Linked DNA regions of Homo sapiens: regions 1, 3 and 4 are each linked to region 2. Evidence: promoter capture Hi-C in 16 types of primary human blood cells and fetal thymus (Javierre and others, 2016). All regions are on one chromosome and are shown on one strand. Each heading gives the region's core, a stretch centred on a gene start or on the middle of the fragment in contact. The rest is flanking DNA. Distances are from core to core; before and after follow the strand shown. Region 1 has its middle 3.9 kb from the start of LINC02733. Region 2 holds the start of FADS1 (fatty acid desaturase 1). Region 3 holds the start of SCGB1D4 (secretoglobin family 1D member 4). Region 4 has its middle 14 kb from the start of ASRGL1.

Region 1 (3,420 bases), core at 324-2,823, 270 kb after region 2:
ATATAAAACCAAGAACCATGGATGAAAAAACATATATGTGTGTCTCATATATGTATGCATTTCATATACATATGTGTTATAAACATATATATGTCTTTCATATATATATATATAAAATGTTTTCACCCATGATTCTTGGCTTATAACTCCCATAGCTCTTGTTATTACAGTTTCTGTTATAATGTTAGGGCACTTTAGTTCTCACAAGCAGGCTTCAGGAAACAGAATCTCTCTCTCTCTCTCTGACCTTCTCCTGCCCACCTTTTACCTGCTCCTTTTTTCTCCCCACCTTTTACCTGCTTCTTTTCCTATCTTTCTGTCTAGGAGCTGGTCATGAGGAAATTCTCTGGCCTACTTTGATTGTAGGTCACAATACCCTCATTTCAGACAGGTCCTGCCCTATTCCCTGGAAGGAATGCTGCACAGAGAGACCAAGAAGAATCTGATCAGATGGGCCTTGTTGGGTTTCCCCATTCAGCCTGTTAGTGTTAGATCGTACCCAATCATATTTATTTTATTTATTTATTTATTTATTTATTTATTTATTTATTTATTTTTTGAGATGGAGTCTCACTCTGTCACCTAGGCTGGAGTGCAGTGACGTGATCTCGGCTCACTGCAACCTCCGCCTCCCGGGTTCAAGCAATTCTCCTGCCTCAGCCTCCCAGGTAGCTGGGATTACAGGCTCCCACTACCATGCCTGGCTAATTTTTGTATTTTTAGTAGAGACGGGGTTTCACCATATTGGCCAGGCTGATCTCGAACTCCTGACCTCGTGATCCGCCCGCCTTGGCCTCGCAAAGTGTTGGGATTACAGGCGTGAGCCATCATGCCTGGCAATAAATTATTTCTTCAAATATTGTGGGGATACAACTGCAGAGATCTCAGATTTCAACGTGTTTTTGTCCAATGCTTATACCATTCAGGTTATAACCATTTCAGAAAAGGTCTGTATAATTCTGGCAATTCATGTATGGCCTTGTAGTGTTAGGTTTTTAGGTGTATATGTGGGATATGTGTGGTTTAGGAAAAAAGCCTTGCAACTTTACAAAGCACTGGACATACACTAGCTAGCCTTCTCTTCACTCCTGTCATTACTGATCTGTTTTCCCCATTTTAGTAAATGGTCAAGATTTACCCCTAGAGAAAGAGTCAGCTTGTGGCCAAATTCATGTTTGATAGATCTTCTCAGCTCTAAAACTGAAAGGGAGAAACTTCAGACAGCAGAAAGAGAAAACAAACAAGCAGGGTGGGTGAAATAATTTCCTATGGTTGTTGAAACAAATTACCACAAATTTCGTGGTTTAAAACAACACAAGGCTGGGCTCAGTGGTGCATGCCTGTAATCCCAGCACTTTGGGGGGCCGAGGTGAGAAAATTGCTTGAGCTCAGGAGTTTGAGACCAGCCTGGCAACACAGTGAGACCTTGTCTCTAAAAAATAAAGAAAGAAAGAAGAAAAAGAAAAAAATTCCAAAAACCAAAACCACCCCACACATTTATTATCTTATAGTTCTGGGGTCAGAGGTCCAAAATGGGTCTTTATGAGCTAAAAACCAAGGTGTTATCAGGCCTGCATCCCTTCTTTTTATTTTATTTAATTCTTTTTTTTTTTTTTGGTAGGGATGCAGTCTCACTCTAATGCCCAGGCTGGTCTTGAATTCCTGGGCTCAAGCAATTCACCCATCTCGGCCTCCCAAAGTGCTGGGATTGTAGGCATGAGGAACTGTGCCTGGCCTTACTTTTGGGTTTTTGAGGAAAAGTGTGGTTTAGACACTTGGAAATGTCTTTGTCGAAAAAAAATGTTTTTTAAGTGTACAGTAAAAGCATCACATGGTCTAACCTCATAATAATTCTCCCTTTTTGGAGACCCAAGATTCAACGTGGGCTTTCCCAGAGCTCAGAGATCCAGTTAAAAGATAAGTAGGCCCTATCTAAATAAAATTGATCCCCTTATACAATCCTATGATAGATTTCTATAATTTTATGTTCAATTTGGCATCCATCTTTAATCTTCCTCTAGCACCACCAGACTTTTACTCTCTGTACCTTATGATGTAAATTTTTCTATTTGATTTTCAGCTGAGTTCTTTCCTTTAATATGCACATTTAAGGCTATTTAACTGACAACTGCCTAGTGTTGTGAAACAGGTTATCAAGTATCTGAAAGTCTAAGATAGGAAAAAAAAAAAAAGGTGTGTTTATTAAGTCTATAAGATGTAATTCTTTTTTTTTTTTTTTTTTTTTTTTTTGAGATGGAGTCTCGCACTGTCCACTGGCCTGGAGTGCAGTGGCGCAATCATGGCTTACTACAACCTCCGCTCCCAGCTTCAAACGATTCTCCTGCCTCAGCCTCCCAAGTAGCTGGGATTACAGGTGCCCGCCACCACACCCAGATAATTTTTTTTATTTTTAGTAGAGACAGGGTTCCACTATGTTGGCCAGACTGGTCTCAAACTCCTGACCTCGTGATCTGCCCACCTCAGCCTCCCAAAGTGCTGGGATTACAAGCATGAGCCACTGCGCCTGGCCTTTTTTTTTTTTTTTTTTTTTTGAGACAGAGTCTCTCTCTGTTGCCCAGGCTGGAATGCAGTGGCACGATCTTGGCTCACTGCAACCTCCATCCCCCAGGTTCAAACAGTTCTCCTGCCTCAGCCTCCTGAGTAGCTGGGATTACAAGAGCCCACAACCATGCCCGGCTAATTTTTTGTATTTTTAGTAGAGGTGGGGTTTCACCATGTTGGTCAGGCTGGTCTCAAGCTCCTGATCTCAGGTGATCCACCCATGTTAGCCTCCCAAAGTGCTGGGATTATAGGCGTGAGCCACTGCACCCAACCTATAAGATGTATTTCTATTGGCATTCCTAATACATCTATGTATTTATGTGTTGTATACACAATGTTTCACTACCAAAAATATATAAAAGAGGTCTAATTAATTGGCTTAAAGAAAAATAAAAGCATTGAAATAAAATACTTTATCAGAAAAAGGAAAAACTAGTCAAATTATTTTTCAAGTTTACATGACTTAAGTAAAATCTTTAATAAGTAAGCTAGCTTTAAAATTATTGGTAAAATAATATTAGAAATGTCTTAAGAATTTCCAGCATACATTTTATTTGCATTTATTAATCTAGCAATTTCATACTTATCCTAGCCAAATACTATAAGGTGTCAAAATTTGGCACAGGGGTTACAAAACCATAAACCCAGCCCAAAACAGAATGATTCTTGCTTGCCGATCTTTAATAAACAAGACATTGATATTGTTTAACAAAAATAGCTACATCTGGAATTACTTAGTAAAATTACCATAACTTCTAATCTTGTGGCTTTAGGCAGTCTAGTCTACAGGCAGTAAGGAGGTTTGTTTTGGGAAAGGACTGCTATTGTCTTTGTTTCAATGCTAAACTATAAATTAAG
Region 2 (3,376 bases), core at 279-2,778:
CACTCTGGGACGCCAGGGTAGTGGATAGGGACAGTGGAGGGCATCACGCTGCAGGGCACGGGATCAGAGGGGGATGCAAGGGGAGGGGACGCCATTCTGGCCGCCAAGGGGGAAACGCGGTGAAGGGAACGCCCCGACTTTCGAGTCCCTAGGACTGAGTCCCCAGGACTCCAACCCAGCAGAGAGGCGCCGGGGCCTTAGCTCTGAGGGCTGTGGTCTAGAAAGGGAAGCAGCAGGCCTGGGGCTGGGGCGCGCGCCGACCCCGCAGTGAGACCAAGGGAAGAAGGGACAGGACCCCGCGAAGGGCCTACCGCCCCAGAGCGTAAACAGCGGTCCGCTCCGCGGAATAGCTGAAGACCTCGCTGGCCTGCGGCTCAGTGGCCTCCCCGGCGATTCGAGAACAGCTCTGGGGGTCCTCGCTAAGTGTATGCCATTCCCAATCCCTTATGTACGCCAGCGGCCGCTTGCCCTCCCCGGCCAGCGCTGTCCCTTCCGCGTCCTCCAGTCTTCACACGACGCAGGGGTCCCCAAGGCAGCGGTCTCCCCAAGCTTCCCGTTTCAGCCCCATCCTCGAGAATGGGCTCCTTTCCTGCTCCCTCTCCGCTCCTGCTGGCGAGTGGAGACCGGCACCTAGGTCCAGACGCGGCTGCGCTGCCTCTCCTAGCCATCGAGACAGGATGTGACTCCCTCCCCTGGCCACTGACCCCCTCCCTCCCCAGGCGGCCTGCATCCTTGCTCTCCTCCCTCCTAGCCTACCCAGCTCGGGGTTCTGTCCCCGCCCAGAGACCTGAGGCTCGGGGCTGCAGATGGAATGCACGGCAGGGAGGCGGGACCCTTTGTTTGTGTGTGCGTGTTGTTGGCCTCCATCCCCACTCCCCAGACTCCACTTCTCCAGGCCTCTCTCCCGCCTTTTCATCCCGCATCCGCAGGACACCCAATCACCGGGCAACAGGTATGATCAGGCGCCTCCGGGCTTTCCTCCGAATTAGTCGGTGTTTGGCTCGGAGTGCGTAACTCTGTCTCCCCTGCACTCAGCCTCCGGTCCCGCCCTCTCCTGTGCCCCCGCCTGGCTGCGCTCACCGTGGCATCCTGCCCGGCGTAGTGGCTGATGACCCGGGAGCCCCCTGGATGCCGGCGGGTGAACTCGCTGATGTTGTACACCTTACGGTCGATCACTAGCCACCGCTCCTCGCACCCTGAGCGCTGGGCCACCTCGTCCCAGGTGAAGTAGCGCGGGGTAGGTCCCTGAGCCGCGGTCTCGGCGGCCACCGGGTCGGGGGCCATAGCTGGCCTGGCGACGCCGCGCGCCGGGCCAGCAGGGGCTGTCAGGCGCGTGCTCGGGGTCCGCGGGCTCCAGGAGTGGATTTGCTGGCGCGCGCCCAGAGCCAGCCGCCTGCGCGCCGGGTTTTCAGCACCGCAGGGCAGACCGGCGGGCCTCGCAGCGCGCGTTCCCATTGGCCGAGCCTCGTGGCGCGGGGAGCGAGATCCCGTCCCCCGGTGGGTCTTGGGCAACTCACAGCTGGGCTGCCAACACGCGCCCCCTCGCGGGCTCCCTAAAGGCGTCGCCGCCGGATTCGACTTCCTGACGTCAGGCGGGCATCGCGGCGTTGGCTCCCAGGGGGCGCCGCGGTAGGAACAGCGGTTCTAGTGCAGGCCCTGGGTGCGGGGCCGCGCTGCAGGAGTGAATGGACTGAGGGGCCAGGGCTGCGGGGTGGCCGCAGGAAGGGTGGGCGGGGCCGGGGTTGAGGTTTTTCCGTGCACGAGGCTGCCCGGGCGGTCGCGGACATCATCTTTAGGCTGTGGATGCCTTGGCCGGGGTCTCCAGACGCTGACCCTCCAGGGTTGGAAACTACTGCCTGCTTGCCACGTCGTGCCGCCAATTGTGCTGCCCGAAGTAGCAGCCTGAGAGCCCTTGAAAGTTGCAGTTATCTTGTGAACAGCATATTTACGGTCTCTTGGGCTTGGTGGTGGTTGGGGGAGGGCTGTTAATGCTTTAATTTGTTCAATGAAACATTTAAAATGCCCCACAATTTTTATAACCCTGTTTGCCTCTTTTTGTTTTTATTTTTATTGTATTTTGGAAAAATTCACTGGGATCCTTGAGTGATGATCCTAGCGTCTCCTGACCCTTAGGTGTTTCACCTGAAAAGCCTGGGTCTTCAAGCTGAGGCATTTCTGTTCTAGCCTGGAGGCGCCTAGGAGCCCTGGGAGACTTTTTAAGCAGAGAGATTTGGCATTTAGATCTCTGGGTTTTAGAGGAGTGGGAACGCACCTAAAAGTGGGGTTGCCAGTTACAAAGCTGTTGCAGTCCTGAAGAGACCCAGAGTTTAGGTCCAAAATTTTATTTATTCAACAAACACTTTATAAAGCACTTACTGTGTGCCAGGCACTGTTCTTAGCGTTTTGCAAACCTTAACTCATTTAATTCTCCTAACAACCCTATGAGGTTGGAACAATTAACCTAATTTACAGTGAAGAAACTGAGCCCGGGGGAGGTTATTTTGTCACACAGCTTGTAAGTGGAGGGCTGAGATTTGACCCTGGCCTGTGCTCTGAACTCTCAGGCTCTGCCATATTTCTCATTACACTGGTATTTGGGCACTTCAAAGGGAAAGGAAACATAACTGTCCCAAGCACTGAGCTAGATTCTGAGCACGTAGGAGTCAGGAGAGGGTGATACAGAATAGACTAGGTGAAATATGGCTAGATTTCTGGTAGAAAAGGATTAATTCATTCCATCCAAATTCTTCATTTTATAGATAAGAAAATTGAGGTTCGAAATGGGGAAGGGGCTTACCAAGTTCCCATAGGGAAGTTTAGATGTCCTGACTTCCAGGTAAGATGCCAGGCTATTGGACCCTGCTCAGGAATGATGGTCCACACAGCTGCACCTCTGTACAGCCAATATTCCTTTTTTAAAAACCTTGCCCAACAACTTGGCAGTGTCTAATGCGAGCTACAAAACATTTTCTATTCTTTGATCAAGCAGTTTCACTCTTGGTAAAGTAGGGGAGACTGTGCAAAGATGCAGAAATAGCCAATTTAATAGCAAAAACTGGAAATAAACCCGAGTCCTGACAATAAGAAAATCGCCAAGCTTATTGGGATCTGTTAACACAATGAAGAATTAAAGAATGATTTTAAATGGCTAGAATGTGAACTATATTGATAGATATAGAATCCTTCCCCGTGAAATAAGCAGAACCCAAAGTAGTATGGGTTCGCTGATTACAACTATATAAGAAATTCATGGGTATTAAATAACAGAAGAGAGGTCCTTTACATAAACCATTTTTCCTATGTGACTGTGCAGTGGGATAAAAGCTCTCATACTGCTGGTAGAAGTGTAAGTTGATTAAACTGGAAAAAATAGTTT
Region 3 (3,635 bases), core at 587-3,086, 480 kb after region 2:
CCCATAGTGACCGTGTCCACTGCGTGAGGGTAGGTTGACCTCAGGAAAGATCCCAGCAGGGAGGCGGCCGTGCTTGGCCCTTCACCATCCCTGCCTTGGCCCTAGCTCACTCCCCATGTCCTCAGCACACTCTGGGGACACAGCATCCAGGCAGGTGACCTGACAAGAAACATGCAGGAGGCTGTGTGCAGCTGAGTTGAATTCTGCCTCTGCATAAAGGAGAAAGAAATTACCAGGACTTTTTCAATGAGAGTCGTTTCTTAAAAGATATCTGATCGGTGCAGTGCTTCACTTCCAACTTGGCTGCAAGAGCTTCTGGAGGTGGATTAAGTTTGGCAACTTGGAGGTTTACCGCAGCGTCACTTAAGAATAAGAAGACTGTGATCTCAGAAGCAACAGCTGGGCAGACAAGAGCATGGGCTGCAGCACAAAAATAAAAATATTGTTGATGTTAGGAAAGTCGATTTTTCTCTCATGGCTCCCTGAGGTTACACCAGACAGGATCCCCTGGGTTCTATGTTTCTATACCATTATTGTGCTGATGACAATACCAGAAACTCCAGGTGTGACTTTCTCCGGGTCACACAACAAAGGGAAGAGCTTCATATCCTCAGCTAGACTTCTTTTTCTTTTTTTTGAGATAGGTTCACCCAGACTGGAATGCAGTGGCACAATCTCGGCTCACTGCAGCCTGAATGTCTTGGGCTCAAGCGATCCTCCCTCAGCCCCCAAAGTAGCTGAGACTACCAGTGCCTGCCACCATGCCCGCTTTTGTGTGTGTGTGTGTGTGTGTGTGTGTGTGTGTGTGTTTTGTTTTGTTTTTTTTTTTTGTAGAGATGGGGTTTCGCCATGTTGCCCAGGCTGGTGCTGAACTCCTGAGCTCAAGTGATCTGCCCACTGTGGCCTCCCAAAGTGCTAAGATTACAGGAATGAGACACCATGCCTGGCCCACAGCTTGACTCTTGACAACCATAACCTTACTTCATTCTCATAGCCACTCCTGGCAGAAGCTTTAACCACCAGTGATAAGAGGAGGCTCAAGGAGGGTGAGCATTGTGCCCAAGATCAAGGGGTGGGAAGTGTCGAAGCCCAGGTTCACCCCAGACCTCACATTACATCATCTGACACAGATCCCATTCAGAAGTGAAGCTCAGGCAGAAGAATTCCTAACATTTGCCTGAACTGATTTTTCTATAAAACTTCTTAGATACTGGGGATTAGAAGAAATAGCTCTAAGCAGCCAGGCGCAGTAGCTCATGCCTGTTATCCCAGCACTTTAGGAGGCCGAGGCGGGCAGATCATCTGAGGTCGGGAGTTCGAGACCAGCCTGACCAACATGGAGAAACCCCATCTCTACTAAAAATACAAAATTAGCCAGCTGTGGTGGCCCATGCCTGTAATCCCAGCTGCTCAGGAAGGCTGAGGCAGGAGAATCACTTGAACCCCGGAGGCAGAGGTTGCAGTGAGCCAAGATCATGCCACTGCACTCCAGCCTGGGCAACAAGAGCAAAACTTCTCAAAAAAAAAAAAAAAAAAAGGAAGAAGAAAGAAGAAATAGCTCTAACCTTTATGAATCTTATTCAACAAGCACAGAAAAGGGTTTGGAATTTTGTTTGGTTTTGTGCAGACCCCAACCCAAAGCACAAATAGGTGATCTTGTGCTCAGAAGAGGGTGCATCCCAGGGGCTGGTGCTGGACTCATGACTGATGTACTCACCCTGGTAGCAGCAAAGGGCCAGCGAGACCATCAGGAGACACACTGACAGCCTCATGGTGGCTTATTCGGCTGTGAGCTCAGCTTTCACAATGAGTGATTTGGATTCGACTCCAGGAGCCTGTGTAGTCATGGAGGCCAGGGCTATTTGTACCTAGGGAGCCTGGCTGGTCCTACCTACCGGGGCACCTGGTAGGTCATGAGGCCTGGCTCCCAGCCCGCCCTTCCAAGCCAGGGCTGCTGCCGTCCATCAATGTCACCTCCTTAGGAATCTCTGCATCTGAGTGGGGCGGAGCACAAGACAGCAGCCTTGTGAGAACTCTGCTCTGTGCTCCAGGTGAGTGTTCAGGTACATCTGGAAATGTTCCTGGGATCCTCAATTTCCTTATGAGCTTTTGCTGATTAGTTCTTTTTATCTTTGTAGCAGTGCAGGGGCACAGGTGAATTATGGCTTCACAAGGCACAGGAAGCTGGAAGGCTGTGTTCTCTTTATGGGAGAGCAGGGACATAAGGAGACCCTGCTTTGATCCCCCTGCATGTCTGACAACAAGCAGGCTTGTTTCAGTTGCACATTGGGAAAGTCTAATCCTTCCCCTCAGCCCCTTCCATCACCACCATGTTCACTGCATAGGTACTGAAAACATAGTTGAATACATCCCACCTGTAGAAGATATGCTGAGGAAAAACATCTGCTGCACCTGTTCTCTAGCCTGCCTCACTCCCAAACCTGAATCTTGTTTATACGTGCAGTTATATATATGGCCAAGATTCACATTTTCTATCTATAAAAAGCAAGCTTTCTGTGATGTGTAGCCACCCACGTCTTATCTTAGGGCTGATCTGAAGATTAAATAACCTAACTCTTTTTCTCAAGAGCTTTTGGAGTGTTCAGAGCCAATCATACATCAGTGGGGCTCTAGGCTGGGAAGATAATAGAAGGGAAGAGACAGAGGAACAGGGTGGGTGGTCACTTCCCCCTAACCCCTAGGCTCAAGTTTTCCACTTCAAACCTATCTGTGCTGCCTGGGCCAATCCCATTTTTAAGGGAAAGTGAAGGAAGCCCCCAGACAAAGCAATACACACCCGCCTTCCCTCCCATTGCCGTGCCTTCATGTGGTGTGAGTTTAATCACCAGAAATTTTTCTCTTAAATAAACTTACATTTGAGAGGAGTCACAGCCCAGGCCATAGCTTTCCATTCTCAGCTATGTAGTCAAATCACTTGGAGCTTTTAAAACATACTGACCCCACAGGCTTCTCTCTCTGGCGATTTTGATTCAGTAGCATTGGGGTGAATCCCTCCTTTCTGTACTGTTTAAACTGCTCTGGTGTTTCTCACAGACAGCAGGGCTGAGATCCAGCCAGGAAAACCTTTAAGAAGGAAGGGGACCTTACGGGTTTTGTCATCAAAGACACATTGACAGATTTAGTTGAGTCCAAGCTGAGGGCAACAGTGGATCTCACTTTCATCACACAGGATGACGACGGAGTCCCTGAATCAGCCCTGCTGCCACCAAGGAGGGGGAGGGTTGGTGGTGAGGTTTACAGCTATGAGGGTTCAGATCCTCATTTATGGGCTCCTGGACCTTAGGAAAATTATTCAGTTTATGTAACCCCAGTTTTCTCATTTGTCAAAGTAGGCTACTAATGGTGCCTACATCATTGGGTTGATAGATGATCAAATGAGTGTGTTCATGGGTGTGTGTGTGTTTAAAATATACCAAGTTCTGGTACATAGTAGTTCTCAATGTAAACTGCCATTATCTTGTCCCATTTGTCATATATGTCATGGTTTGCCAGTAGTTCCTAGTTTAGAGCACAGCCAAAATCCACTAAATCACCTACTTGCAGAACTACACGGACACCTAGATACACCATTTCTCTTTGACATAAATGGAAAAGGAAACCCAGCTCATGGTCTT
Region 4 (3,639 bases), core at 818-3,317, 510 kb after region 2:
AGCCTAGGATTCTGTTGCTGACACTCCAGCTTCTGTTGCATCCCCTCCCCACTTTTCCGAAAGGCACAGCAACTCCTTGGGTCATCGTACATTGGCAGGAGGAAGCTGGGTTTGCCATCAGAAAAAGAGGATGACCTCGGTTAACAAAAGTAAAACATTTGGGAGGCCAAGGCGGGTGGATCACCTGAAGTCAGGAGTTCGAGACCAGCCTGACCAACATGGTGAAACCCCATCGCTACTAAAAATACAAAATCAGCTGGACATGGTGGCACATGCCAGTAATCCCAGCTACTTGGGAAGCTGAGGTGGGAGAATTGCTTGAACCCGGGAGGCAGAGGTTGCAGTTAAGCCGAGATCGCACCATTGCACTCCAGCCTGGGCAACAAGAGCAAAATTCCATCTCACAAAGAAACACAAACAAAAACAAAAATAAAACAACAGGAATGCCAACAAGGAAAGGCAGCTCTGGGTCAGCAAGCACACCCTTCTTTGTCCAAAGGGCAGAACACAACACGAGCAGCAGAGAAGGAGCCCAGGATAACCTGGAGGAAGACATCAGCTGGTGGCTGGAAAGGCTGCTCCAGGGTGTGTCAGGCAAATTAAATGAACTCAGCCAAGACTATTTTATAAAATAATAATCATGTCCAATATATTATTCTATTCTACATCTCATAAAGTACTTTCACATACATTATTTCTTCTCATTAATCAATTGAAAGGAACATATTCTAGAGTGGCTCCTGGAAGAGAATGGTCTAGATTTATTTGAGCATAGGGAGGATAACAATGTTAGTCCAGCTCAGAAGAAGCAAGTGAGGCTGCCAGGGTCACCCCAGGCAGACACTCGGCACAGGAATTTCAGCACGGGCCCTTGACCCTAAGATGCACAGGAATGGAACACTCAGGCTTCATTTTAAGCTTTCCCTGCTTGTGAAGGTTAATTTCAGGTGTCAGCTTGACTGGATTAAGGGATACCCAGATAGCTGGTAAACCACTATCTGTGGGTGTGTCTGTGAGGGTGTATTCAGAAGAGGTTGGCATTTGAATCACTGGGAAGATCCACCCTCACCCAGTGTGGGCCCAATCAGCTGAGGGCCCACGTAGAACAGAAAGGCAGACAAAGGGTGAATTTGCTCTTGCTGTCTCTCTGCTGGAGCTGGGACACCCTTCTTCTCCTGCCCTAGGCAATAGGAACTTCAGGTTCTCTGGCCTTTGGACTCTGGAACATACATCAGCTGCCTCCCAGTTTCTCAGGCCTTCAGCCTCAGACTTCCATTTCACAATATCAACTTGTCTGGTTCTCAGGCCTTTGGGCTTGGACTGAGACACGCTTCAGGCTTCCCTGGTTCTCCAGCTTGCAGCTGGCCTGCCATGGGACTTCTCAGCCTCCATCCTCACATAAGCCAATTCCCCTAACAAATCCCCCTATATATTTATACAAACATATAGTTATATATAATCTCCTATTGGTTCTGTCTCTCTAGAGAACCCCAACTAATACACTGCTCTACACAGCTCTACAGTAATGGAGGTCTAAATGATAATCTAAGTAAAATGTTTGCTAACTACCTGCCATCTCTAATTAGCTACACCATTAGCTAGATCAAATAGCTAATCAACTAGCTAGACCAACATGCAAAGGAGAGAATCCTCCTCTCATTACACATACTTCTGGAAAGGCTAATAAGTGTAGAAGAAAGAAAAGTGTCAATCGCCTAACTCAGGATCAACAAACTTTCTGCAATGGGCCAGGAAGAAAATATGTGAGGCTTTGTAGGCCACCATCGTCTGTTCCAGCTACTCAACCCTGCCACTCTAGGGTGAAAGCAGCCAGAGACAATATGTAACAAACAAATGAGTGTCAACTAATGAGAAATAAGGGCTGGACATGGTGGCTCATGCCTGTAATCCCAACAATTTGGGAGGCTGAGGCTGGTGGATCATGAGGTCAGGAGATCGAGACCATCCTGGCCAACATGGTGAAACCCTGTCTCTACTAAAATACAAAAAATTAGCTGGGCATGGTGGTGCACGCCTGTAGTCCCAGCTACTCAAGAGGCTAAGGCAGGGAAATCACTTGAACCCAGGAGGCAGAGATTGCAGTGAGCCTAGATCATGCCACTGCACTCCAGCCTGAGGACAAAGCGAGACTCCGTCTCCCCCGACCAAAAAAAAAAAAAAAACCCTGCAGGGCAGCAAACAAGAGAGGAATTGCAATGCGGGAGACACAAATCTAGCAAGCAGCTAAATCATGTTCCCTCCAAGTGAGGTTGAGCAGGAGTTTTAGAGGTTTACTGTAAATTTACACAAGTGGGACAACTTAGCATGGTCTATGATTAATGGTGATTGATTGACAGCTTAGAATGTCTCTAGCTGATGATCAGCTTATGTTGGCACAGCTCTCTCCCCAGGAGATTTGTGATCAGGCCCAATATAAATAGGTTAAACTAAATGTACCTGCTTCTTCAGGATGTTTACAGTTTGGCCCAGTTCCACAGGTGACATTCTGTCTGGGTGTGTATAGGCCTGGGTCCAACTCTTCCTACCCACCCACCAACTTTTTAGATGCCTCTGACATAGCCATTTCCATCCTGGATTTCCTTTCATATAAATATGTTTGTTTCCCAAGAAGACTTTATTTCTGAACCCTGAAATTTGATTTCACATAATTTCCATGTGTCAGAAAGTACTGTTCTTCTTTTGATTTTTTTAACCATTTAAAAATATAAAATCCAGGGCCGGGCGCGGTGGCTCACGCCTGTAATCCCAGCACTTTGGGAGGCCGAGGCGGGTGGATCACAAGGTCAGGAGTTCGAGACCAGCCTGGCCAACCTGGTGAAACCCTGTCTTTACTAAAAATACAAAAAATATCTGGGCGTGGTGGCGGGCGCCTGTAATCCCAGCTACTCGGGAGGCTGAGGCAGGAGAATCACTTGAACCCAGGAGGCGAAGGTTGCAGTGAGCCGAGATCACGCCATTGCACTCCAGCCTGAGCGACAAGAGTGAAACTCCGTCAAAAAAACAAAAAACAAAACAAACAAACAAAAACGTGCAGAGGGCAGAGCAGAGGATGCATGCACGTGGAAAATGAGAATAACTCTCTTACCTACCTTCAGCAGTGCTCTAACAATTGCAGCAGATTATACCCCAGAGGTCGCAGGAGGAAAAGACTTAACCCTGAAGGCAGGCCAGCCGCTGGGAGAGCCAAGAAGAGGCAAAGCTTTACGTGCCCTCTAGCCCGCTGCCCACTTCCAGAGCCAGGTAAGTCAGTTCTCCTTCTGAGAAGGTGAGGACTGCCTCCTATGGCTAGATGAAGAGTGATTTCTATAAACAGCCCTGGCTCCGGGCAATGTGGGTACCGTCATGACCATCACAAATATGTTTACATTTGCTAAGATCGCAAACAATCTAAACAACCACCGATAGCGCTGAGACAGAATGGTGTCCAAGATATACTACTGAGTGAGAAGAGGAAATTACAGGTCACCCAGGACATTACGCAAGGCGCACACTATTTGTATCAAAGAAGGGTGGCCACAGACGGAGGAGGCTCCCACCACAGGCCAACTTCATCATTGCAAAGCCTCCGCCAGCCGATCCCTGGGGAAACAGCGCCTCCTTGGGGCCAGAGCGCTGTAT

Evidence for each region. Contacts are between HindIII fragments. The CHiCAGO score rates a contact against its expected background, and 5 or more counts as called.
Region 1: a fragment that was not itself captured here is called in contact with the fragment with the promoter of FADS1 in region 2 in 10 of 17 cell types (neutrophils, naive CD4 T cells, endothelial precursors and 7 more); the score reaches 15.1 in neutrophils.
Region 3: a contact is called between the fragment with the promoter of SCGB1D4 here and the fragment with the promoter of FADS1 in region 2, in 13 of 17 cell types (total CD4 T cells, total CD8 T cells, non-activated CD4 T cells and 10 more). The highest score is 12.5, in total CD4 T cells.
Region 4: a contact is called between a fragment that was not itself captured here and the fragment with the promoter of FADS1 in region 2, in 1 of 17 cell types (naive B cells). The highest score is 5.2, in naive B cells.

What each region holds. Positions count from the first base shown.
Region 1 is chr11:62,084,467-62,087,886 of GRCh38, forward strand. No RefSeq gene overlaps it. Among named protein-coding and RNA genes, the nearest start is that of LINC02733, 3.9 kb to the left of the region's middle. The HindIII fragment of the contact is 4,419 bases long and covers 1-3,420 here.
Region 2 is chr11:61,815,475-61,818,850 of GRCh38, forward strand. FADS1 (fatty acid desaturase 1) reads right to left here and starts at 1,529. Exons shown (of 12, transcript NM_013402.7): 1 at 1,081-1,529. The coding sequence starts at 1,455. LOC124902680 (a long non-coding RNA gene) reads left to right here and starts at 2,546. Exons shown (of 2, transcript XR_007062696.1): 1 at 2,546-3,376. It also overlaps a transcript of FADS2 not described here. RefSeq lists an enhancer at 1-730 and silencers at 1,251-1,450, 1,791-1,890. The HindIII fragment of the contact is 2,548 bases long and covers 548-3,095 here.
Region 3 is chr11:62,297,239-62,300,873 of GRCh38, forward strand. SCGB1D4 (secretoglobin family 1D member 4) reads right to left here and starts at 1,837. Exons shown (of 3, transcript NM_206998.2): 1 at 1,718-1,837; 2 at 234-420. The coding sequence starts at 1,772. The HindIII fragment of the contact is 1,500 bases long and covers 1,009-2,508 here.
Region 4 is chr11:62,321,493-62,325,131 of GRCh38, forward strand. No RefSeq gene overlaps it. Among named protein-coding and RNA genes, the nearest start is that of ASRGL1, 14 kb to the right of the region's middle. The HindIII fragment of the contact is 2,302 bases long and covers 917-3,218 here.